Linked DNA regions of Homo sapiens: region 1 is linked to region 2. The links are contacts of gene promoters, found by promoter capture Hi-C in blood cells and fetal thymus (Javierre and others, 2016). All regions are on one chromosome and are shown on one strand. Each heading gives the region's core, a stretch centred on a gene start or on the middle of the fragment in contact. The rest is flanking DNA. Distances are from core to core; before and after follow the strand shown. Region 1 holds the start of MIR194-2HG (MIR194-2 host gene). Region 2 holds the start of CDCA5 (cell division cycle associated 5).

The links. Contacts are between HindIII fragments. The CHiCAGO score rates a contact against its expected background, and 5 or more counts as called.
Region 1: a contact is called between a fragment that was not itself captured here and the fragment with the promoter of CDCA5 in region 2, in 1 of 17 cell types (endothelial precursors). The highest score is 5.1, in endothelial precursors.

Annotation. Positions count from the first base shown.
Region 1 is chr11:64,889,513-64,894,737 of GRCh38, forward strand. It overlaps MIR194-2HG (MIR194-2 host gene), which reads right to left and starts at 3,937. Exons shown (of 3, transcript NR_133640.1): 1 at 3,899-3,937; 2 at 3,078-3,314. ATG2A (autophagy related 2A) reads right to left here. Exons shown (of 41, transcript NM_015104.3): 41 at 5,034-5,225. It overlaps MIR192 (microRNA 192), which reads right to left and starts at 1,734; the gene lies at 1,625-1,734. MIR194-2 (microRNA 194-2) reads right to left here and starts at 1,927; the gene lies at 1,843-1,927. The HindIII fragment of the contact is 935 bases long and covers 3,310-4,244 here.
Region 2 is chr11:65,080,671-65,085,400 of GRCh38, forward strand. It overlaps CDCA5 (cell division cycle associated 5), which reads right to left and starts at 3,370. Exons shown (of 6, transcript NM_080668.4): 1 at 3,263-3,370; 2 at 2,959-3,053; 3 at 2,815-2,880; 4 at 2,694-2,729. The coding sequence starts at 3,308. It overlaps ZFPL1 (zinc finger protein like 1), which reads left to right and starts at 3,552. Exons shown (of 8, transcript NM_006782.4): 1 at 3,552-3,708; 2 at 4,021-4,130; 3 at 4,445-4,556. The coding sequence starts at 4,029. RefSeq lists enhancers at 3,102-3,331, 3,412-3,681, 4,271-4,730. The HindIII fragment of the contact is 9,431 bases long and covers 1-4,730 here.

The DNA of each region.
Region 1 (5,225 bases), core at 2,527-5,026, 190 kb before region 2:
TGGATGTGCGTGCCCAGCAGACAGAAAGGGCTCAATAGCCAACGCCTGTTATTAAGCAATTTGACATTTATTCCTAGGTCTCTATTTCCCATTTTACAAATTTTATTTTGTAGTACCAGAAACCTTTTTATTCAAATGAAAAATTCTGACAGGGCACAGTGGCTCATGCCTGTAATCCCAGCAGTTTGGGGGGCTGAGGCAGGACTGCTTGAGGCCAGGAATTTGAGACCAGCCTGGGCAACATGGTGAAACCCCATCTCTACGAAAAATACAAAAATTAACCAGGCATGGTGGCACGTGCCTGTAGTCACAGCTATTTGGGAGGCTGAGATGGGAGGACTGTGTGAGCCCTGGCAGGTGGAGGCTGCAGCAAGCTGTGATTGTACCACTGCGCTCCAGCCTGGGTGACAAAGCGAGCAAGACCCTGTCTCAAAAAAAAAAAAAAAAAAAAAGGAAAATTTCCTCAGAACCCCGTTGTATAAGAAACAGGTGGGGCTGGGCGCGGTGGCTCACACCTATAATCCCGGCACTCTGGGAGGCCGAGGTGGGCAGATTATCTGAGGTCAGGAGTTCGAGACCAGCCTGGCCAACATGGTGAAACCCAGTCTCTACTAAAAACACAAAAATTAGCTGGGCATGGTGGTGCATGCCTGTAATCTCAGCTATTTGGGAGGCTGAGGCAGGAGAATCGCTTGAACCCAGGAGGCAGAGGTTGCAGTGAGCTGAGATCATGCCAGGAGGGGAGGCTTCCTCCTGGGAGGAAGCCTGTTGCATTCCAGCCTGGGCAACAGAGCAAGACTCTGTCTCAAAACAAACAAACAAACACCACAAAGAAATAGGTGGAAATGAGGCTGTTGTGGGAGGCGGGACAGGGGTGGGGTCAGCTGTCCTGTCCTGGGTTGGCTGCTCTTCCTCTACCAGCAGCTGGGGTCCTGGGCCCTCTTAGGAATCCTAGGGGCTGGAGAAGCTGCTCCACCAACCACAGGGCTGTGCTCCAGGGAGATGAGACTGGCAAAGGAGGGGAGAGTAGGAAGCAGATGGGGAGGCTGGCTCAGGGCCCCATCCTGGGTGGGGGGGCTCCAGCACAAACACTGGGCCTAGAGCACTCAGCCCCCCTTGGCCACACTGCATGTCGGTGGGTGCTTCCTCAGGGTGCAAGACAGAGGCTCAGGATTGGTTCAGCAAACATTTATTGGGCACGCGCCTGGGCTGGGAACTGAGCTCACAGATGGGGAGAGGAGCGAGACATAAGCAGAAACCAGCACCGGGGCTCCGAGAGGGCAGTGCTCTGCGGCAGCACTGTGTGGGGGTGCCCAGGTGGGGACTTAGAAGCTTCAATAAGGCCTTCTGGAGGCAGCAAATGCTTGGACAGAGCTTGAAAGGGTTAGTAAGAGTGAGCCTGGCAAATAAGCTAGGAAGAGTATTGCAGCCCAAGGGAACAGCATGGGCAAAGCATAGAGGTGCCACAGGGCAGGCAGGGCAGGGGCAGGACTGAAGCTGTTCAGGCTCATTCACGGGGAATGAGACAGAGGGAGGTGGGACCATGAGTGCTGCACTGGGGTCGCAGGATCTCTGCTGACTGCTGGACACCCCCGGCCCTCCCCTATCCCTGCAGGTCCTGGTGGCTGGCATTGAGGCGAACATACCTGTGACCTATGGAATTGGCAGCCAGAGGGGAGACGAGAGCACTGGCTGTCAATTCATAGGTCAGAGCCCTGTGCACTCGGTCTCGGCAGCCCACCGACAGCCCTCCACTACCCGCCACCATCTGGCCTGGGAGCGTCGCCACGGTAGTCCTGGCTGGTCTGCTGGCCAGCACCTGCCTCTCCTTCTTCGTGGGTACTGGCCCTCGCCCCAGATAACAGCAGCCCCACTGGAACCAGTGGGCACTTCCACATGGAGTTGCTGTTACAGGGGGCGGGAACCAATTGGAGACCGGGGCCCTGCCTGGCGTCCGCCTTCGGCAGGGCTCTGGAGAGTGTCCCATGCCCACTCACCTGGGCTCCCCAGTCTTCGTGGCCCCAGGTCCATGGTCTTTTCACCGAGGCTTCTTATCATCCGGGGCCCACACCTGGCGCCCCGTGTGCTGCCAGCACTCCTTCCTGGGCAAAGTCCAGGCTCAACCCCAAATCGGCCTCATAAAGCCGGGAGCGGCTCGGATTTACAACTCCTGGGCAGCCTTTGCCCGCTCTGATGACCCCACGCCCTCTGTCCCCAAGTTATTTTGTTTCCTTGTTTCTTTCCCAACCAGAGCTGGGCCTCAGTTTCAGGTTTGGCCACTGTCACCTCTGCCCTTTGCCCACCCTCCCTGCTGCAGCCATGGGGCAGAGAGACAGCAAGGGACAGCTGGCACTTGTCAGTCCCCAGGGACCTCCCAGTGCCTGATTTCATGAGGATGGCCTCGTATGGGAAGCTGAAGATGAGACTAAGAAGAAGTGTGGGGGGCTGTGTGGGGGAGGGCACAGAAAGAGGGATAGTGAGGCAGAGGGGCTGAGAGAGGAAGAGAAGAGTAAGGCCGAGGATGGCGGTGCACACCTGGCATCCCAGCACTTTGGGAGACCAAGGTGGGAGGATCTCTTGAGCCCAGGAGTGCAAGACCAGCCTGGGCAACACAGTGAGACCCCATCTCTACAAAAAATAAAAAATTAGCCTGGTGTGGTGATGCATGCCTGTGGTCCCAGCTACTCAAGAGGCTGAGGCGGGGGATCACTTGAGCCTGGGAGGTCGAGGCTCCAGTGAGCTGGGATTGTGCCACTGCACTCCAGCCTCAGTGACAAAGAAAGACCCTGTCTCAAATAAAAATAAGAGGAGCAGGTAGAGAACTAGAAAGGAACAGAGAAAACAAACAGGGATAGTGGATGACGAGGTGTAGGAAGGGGGACGACAGGGAACTGGAAAAGATGTAGATACACAAACCTGCCGCAGAACATGAGGAACAGGCTGTGAGCAGTGGCTCGCCTGGAAGGACGCTTAGGACCTCAGTGGCCTGGAAGACAGCAGGGGCCTGGGAGCTGGGTGACCTTGAGCAAGTAGCGTAACCTCTCTGAACCACTGTCCATATGTCAATCAGGACTTACGAGGCCACCCTGCACGCTGGGCTGGCCTGGTGGGAAGCATCCGCCCTGGGACCCTTGGGTCTCTCTCCGCTGTGGGGAGAGGAAGCAGCTGCTGGCCAGGGTCCCTGAGTGAGCCCAGGGCTCTGTGAGGCAGAGCTTCCTCTTGCAAAGCGTGTTCTCGTCCCTCCCAGACAGGTTCCGGTGACAGGTGCCAGTCCTGCAGAGACCCAGCAGGCATTTTGGGAGACTCCAAAGCTTCTGGAGAGAAAGGGGAGCTTTTAGAGTAGACTTGGGCCCTGCCCCCTTTGCCAGTGGTGCATACAGGCCTAGAGAGACAGAGGGGGCCGCCCAAGGTCACAGAGCAGGGCCCCAGGGCCTGTGCTGCCCCAACAACCTTCCCGAAGTGGCGTCCCCCCTTCTCAGGATGCAGTCAGGGTGGGATGGGGGATCCCTGGGCTGGAATCCTTCTGCCTGGGGGGACAGACCTGCGAAGGAAGACACCGTAGCTGGTGGCTGGCCCTCCACTCAGCCTGGCGGCCCTTCCCACAGAGGCCTGGGCGAGACCAGCCTCCTGCAGCGTGGTGTCCAAGTGCCCTGGCCTGGCAGAGACAGCGCCCGATCAGGAATCCTGGCTCCACAGCTCTGAGCGCTGATGCTAAGGCCCCCTTATCCCACAGTGGAAACCAAGGCACAGAGAGGAAGGGGCTCGTCCCGGCCACCCCATGGCTGTCCAGGTCCCTTTCTTCCTCAGGATTGGCCACCCTTCAGAGAGGTGCCTGGGTTCAGGAGCCTCCTAGGACAGGGAGGGCGGCAGGGGTCCTACCACTCAGGAAGCCTCTTACCTGAGTGCCGGGCTGGCCTTCGGGGCACAAGGAGGAAGTGGGGACACCCTGGGCCCAGGGCCTTTTGAGCCGTTGACCCAGCCCCTGGTGGTGGTTAATGATTATCCCACCACCGTCAATACTGATCACAAGTGCGGTTCGAAGGGCAGGAAGCCCTGGACTGTGCCCGGGCAGGGTGGGGCGGGTCCAGGAAGCATCAGGCTGGGCCCCATCTGCCTCTCCGGGTGGCATCAGCACCGAGTCTCCACAGCCCTGTCTCCTCCAGGGCCTCGCCCTCCTGGTCTCTTACCAGCCTGCTGCCCCAGCTGTCCGTGGGCAGCCAGGACCCCAGGGTCCCTCGGGACAAAGCTTCTGCTCTGTTCCCAGTACCCAGATCTCCCCCACTCAGAAGGGGCCACAGAGCAGGGCTGGGGGACCTTTGCTAACCCCAGAGGCCTGCGGAACCTAGCAAGGTGAGGGTTCCCTGATTCCCAACCCGAGCCTTGGTTTCCCCATGGACCCACCCACCTCTGTGCAGCGCCACTGGGAAGCAGGGCAGGGAGGAGCGCGATGGGAGCAGCTCACAAGAAACAAGATGTGTGGGGGGCAATGGGCGCTCCCTGGTCCTGTGTAAAGCTTTGTGCAGTGAGGGTTGGGATTCCGGCTGCAGCGCTGCTCCAGCACCCCTCCCCCCTCCAAGTGCTGGAGCTGGGACCCCAGATCAGAGTGGAAACCAAGGGGCCAAGGCCTGGGCCACCCCAAAAGCCCCCACTAGGGATGGTGAGAGCAACATCTAGAATGCCTCAGGCTCAGCCTTCCCCGAGTGGCCTCAAGTGACAACCAGGCAGGGTCAGCTGGGCTCCAAGGACCATCCCTCCCTCCCCTGGCAGCCCCACGTAGCTCCTGCCACATCAGGAGTGGGGCTGGAGTGGCAGCCTCCTGGGAGGGGCAAGGCAGAGCCCAGAGCCAGGGGAAGGCGTGCAGGGCTGGGTGCCTCTGGGTCCCCCTGTGCCCTGATCTGCTGGGCAAGGCCAGGAGGCATGGCGACCCCTGGTGGTGACATGGGAGGTGCTGGGTGCAGAGGTGGGATCTGGGGCGGGGCCAAGGTCAAGGCTGAGGCCAGGGTTCACAGGGACAGAGGATCTGAGAGGGGGGCTGGCGGTGGGCAGTTTATTCCACTTCATGCAGACACTGACCCACGCACTCACGGAGCTTAAAAATAATACATCGAACCACACGGATATCATCCCCTCCTCCCCCCAGACACAGAAAGACACTTGGCTGAGTGGGATGGGGTCCGAGGGTCCAAAAGCCTCCGTCCTGGGAGAAGGCAGCAGTGTGGGCCCAG
Region 2 (4,730 bases), core at 2,120-4,619:
CCCTTGCCTGCTGTGGTCCATCTGCCACACAGCTGATGAGGATTGTCCTAAATGTCCACTCAGTCCATAAGTATTTATCAGTCACCTGTCCTGTGCCAGGCACTGGGAACACAGCAGGGAATAAAACAGAGAAAACCCCTGCCCCATTCTAAGAGAAAAACAGGTAAGAAAATTCAGTATTATGTTAGCAGTATCAAGCACTACAGGAAAACAGAACAGGAGAGAGTGCTTGGGGCAGGTTAGAATTGCAAAAAGATAAAGGTCAATACATCCCTCACTGAGGTGACATTCAAGCTACAACTTGAAGGAGGTGTGGGAGTGACTCATGGCCAAGTTCTAGGCAGTGGGAACAGAAGGTGCAACAACCCTGAGGCCACAGTGTACTAGTCAGGGTCAAACAACAAGGAGGCCAGTGTGGCTGAAGTGAAGGCAAGAGGAAGAAACTGAAGATGAAGTTCAAGAGATAATGGGTGGCCAGATATGGTGGTTCACACCTATAATCCCAGCACTTTGGGAGGCTGAGGTGGGTGGATCACCTGAGGTCAGGAGTTTGAGACCAGCCTGGCCAACATAGTGAAACCCCATCTCTACTGAAAATACAAAAAAAATTAGCCAGGTGTGGTAGCAGGTGCCTGTAAGCCCAGCTACTTGGGAGGCTGAGGCAGGAGAATCGGTTGAACCTGGGAGGCGGAGGTTGCAGTGAGCCGAGATTGCGCCACTGCACTCCAGCCTGGGTGACAGTGCGAGACTCCATCTCAAAAAAAAAAAACACAGGGAAGCTGAACAAATTGGTGGTCACTGCTGACTACGACTTCCTCATTCTCTATAGCCAAGCAGTCACCCAGGTCCTGGCAACTTTATCCTGCTCGATGTACCATGAATCTCAGTCAATCAACAAGAATGAGTGGCTACTAGGAAAGGCAGAAGTCCCTACCCTCAAGGTGCCTGTGTTCTTAGAGGGGGGAGAGAAAGACATCAAACATGCAAGAAAATACACTATAAGAACTGATAAGGACCAGGCACAGTGGCTCATGCCTGTAATCCCAACACTTTAGGAGGCCAAGGTGGGAGGATCACTTGAGCCCAGGAGTTCAAGACCGGCCTGGGCAACATAGTGAACCCTCATCTCTATAAAAAAAATTAGAGAAAACATCAAAAAATTAGCCAGGCATGGTGGCATGTGACTATAGTCCCAGCTACTTGAGAGGCTGAGGAGGGAAGATCTGCAGTGAGCCGAAATCTCGCCACTGCACTCCAGCCTGGGTGGCAGAACAAGACCCTATCTTTAGAACTGGTAAGGCCTAAGAGAATTACATAGAGAAATGTGACAGCAATAGGGTAAGGGTGGTCAGGGAAGGCCACTGGGGGGCAATTCCCTCTGAACCCAGTACTGTATATCATCCTGGCTTTAGCTCACGCCCTTGGCTTCATGCTTCAGAATTCCTGGACTTCACGTCATTCCACTGGTCTTGGAGCCCCAGGGTAGCCCTTCTCAAAACCATTCTCCCCACAGCCCCCAGAGGGGTCTTTCTTAAAACACTCAAACTTGACTCGGTCACTACCTTACCCAGAACTCTCCAAAGGCTGCCCACAGACCCAAGAATGATGCCCAAGCCATGAGTGTGGCTTTTGTGCCTCATCAGGATCTGCTCTGCCTTAGGGTGCTTCCTCCCCTGCTGAGGTCTGCTGCAGACACTAAACAAATTGCTATTCCCCGAACCTTGATTTTTCTTTAAATTCCCAATCTCTGCAAACATGGCTTCTTTGACCTGGAACAAACCTACTTGTCTTTTTTTTTTTTTTTTTTTTTGAGATGGAGTCTCGCTTTGTCACCCAGGCTGGAGTGCAGGGGCGTGATCTCGGCCCACTGCAACCTCCGCCTCCTGGGTTTAAGCGATTCTCCTGCCTCAGCCTCCTGAGTAGCTGGGACTATAGGCACGTGCCACCATGCCTGGCTAATTTTGTATTTTTAGTAGACACAGGGTTTCACCACGTTGGCCAGGCTGGTCTTAAACTCTTGACCACAAGTGATCTGCCCGCCTCAGCCTCCCAAAATGCTAGGATCACAAGCGTGAGCCACTGCACCCGGCCTCTACTTGTCTTTAAAGACTCAGTTCAAATGTTTCTTCTTCCACGAAACATTCCCTGAGCCACATGGTCTGGGTTAGCTACCATCATAGCATCTAGTATTCCTTATTGCAGTCCCAGTACACAACGTTGCTATCACTTGTCATTGGTCTTTCTCCCCAGTTGACTCTAAGCCCTATCAGCTCTTCAAAGGAGTTCACATTTCTCAGTCAGTATGTCTTCAGATTGTCTATTAATGAAACATCCTTTGATAATAACTTCTGCTAAAACTGTAAAAATGTCATACACATGACTTATCTCAGAACACCCATACATGAAAGCTGAAGGCATAATGGATTAGAAAGGCAGTACGTGGAGTTAAGACATAGCTCAGCTTTTAAAGGAAGTTCCAGGAAAATGGTAGAAATACACAAGGCATAAAAAGTTAAGTGTATTAAGTCTTCAGGGAGTAATCAAGACTGGCAATGCATGCAGGTGCCCACAGGCAAACTGTTTTTGCAGTACTGCAAAACAGCTCCCTGGGCAGATGTGAGGAGCCAATGTGTGCTGTCCAGCTCTAGAGTGACCCAGATTCTACTTAATTAAGTAGATGAAAGTGAACTCACCCTAGGGCTCCTGCGAGGTGATTGGACAGCTGGGACCTGCGGGGGACAATACCAATTGATCACATAGCTGGTCCCCAGTTTTGCCCGCCTAACCACCCACAACACTCTCCTTAGCCTTTACCTCTACAGCATGGGCCACGATCCTCTTTAAGACGATGGGCTTTCTGACTGCAGCCGCACTGGGTGTCTGGAGAAGAGGGATGAACGTGAGCTCAACATTAGGTGAGGGGCCACAAGGGGAGGAAGTGAGAAATCTGGGGCTCACCTTCGGCCAGATTTCAGGGAGGATGCTCGGGAGTTCAGAGCCTGATTTCCGCTGGGACCTCCGCAGAGGCTTAGTAGGAGATGGGGCCCTTGGCCCTGGAAAGAGAAAAAAGTTAAGTGGTAGAGGAGGACTCTAGACCTTAGAGTCCAGAGAACAGGTTCTAGAGACAGCGAGAAGATTCCCAAACAAGCCCTTTTAAGGGCGCCTCCTCCGGCGGCGGCAGCGGGAGGGAAGAGGCCATCTTTCACCGGACTGCGTCCCCCAAACGGCTCGACCTCACGTCTCCCGCGCGCCCTCCGCTCACCGGAGCGCTGAGCGGCTCCTCCGGACCGCGTTCGCCTCCCAGACATAACTTAGGCTCCGTCTCGAGCTCCTCCAGCGCCGCCGCCCCGGGCGCGCGCCAACCGGGAAGGCCACTCGCTGCAAAAAACGTTCGAATTACCCGCCCTGCGGGAAAGGAAGCGGAAGTGACGTAGGGCTAGCGGTCTGCGGCCCTCGGAACCCCGAGTCTTTTCCACCCGTCTTCACCTCTAGCGGCAGCGGAGGCGTGGCCCAGGGGCGCGATGGCGTCATCAGCGCGCGCCGCACCCGGAAGAGACGTGGCAGCGGAGGGATAATCGGGGCGGCCGGGGCTGAAGGGAGAGGCGCAGGAGCCCTGGGGAGAGTGGTCCCTGCCCTTCCGCGCCTCGAGCCATCGCTACCGCCCTTCGGAACCAGTGCAGCGGCCGATCAGTAAACACAGAGACTGGGGTCTGTAGAGAAGGGGCGGGACTTGGAGGGGGTGGGGCTCAGGAGAGGTCTTGGGGGCGGGGCCGGTAGTATCGGGGAGCCTCTGATGGAGGGGCCTGGCCGGGGGCGGGATCCAGAAGGATTGAGGGGTCGCCGGAGGCGGGATTTATGCAGGGGGTGTTTCTCCGCATAAGGAGGGACAGTGGGCAGGAATCTGAGATCGGGGCGAATATGAGAGGTGTCTGGGGGAGTTAAGAGTGGAAACTGGGCTGGTGAGAGCGTAGTGGTGGCCACCAGAACCTGACTTCCTACCAACTCATGCCCCTTTCCCAGGATCGATCATGGGGCTTTGTAAGTGCCCCAAGAGAAAGGTGACCAACCTGTTCTGCTTCGAACATCGGGTCAACGTCTGCGAGCACTGCCTGGTAGCCAATCACGCCAAGGTGGGGCCTTCAGGGGAGCGACTGAGCAGGGCACTGGGTGGGCAAGGCGGTATTGGCTTCCTCCAAATCCATGAGGGGCCCCGCGCTAGAATGTAAGCCCCACAAGGGCAAGGACTTGATTTATTTTGTTCACTGATATATCCCCCGTTCCCAAGAGAGAGTCTGGTGCACAGTATGTGCTCAATAAATATTTATTGATTAAACAAACGAAAGGATGAGTCTCCTCTGTGGCTAGAGAAAAAGAGACAGTCGGACCTTGGGGTGATAGGCCGAGCAGCCCCAGCACCAGTTGTGACATCTCTCTCCCACTCCAGTGCATCGTCCAGTCCTACCTGCAATGGCTCCAAGATAGCGACTACAACCCCAATTGCCGCCTGTGCAACATACCCCTGGCCAGCCGAGAGACGACCCGCCTTGTCTGCTATGGTGAGGCCTTGGCACCTCGGGGGGATCAGGCCAGCCTCAGGGGCCAGCTTGGTGACTGGTTTCCAGGCCCTCCTCAAGCAGCAGGACAGTGAGTCCCCCGAGTCTCAGAGCCCAGATTCTAGTCCTGTTAAAGTTCCTTACCTGCTGTGTAAGTTCAGGCAAGTTATTCTTCCT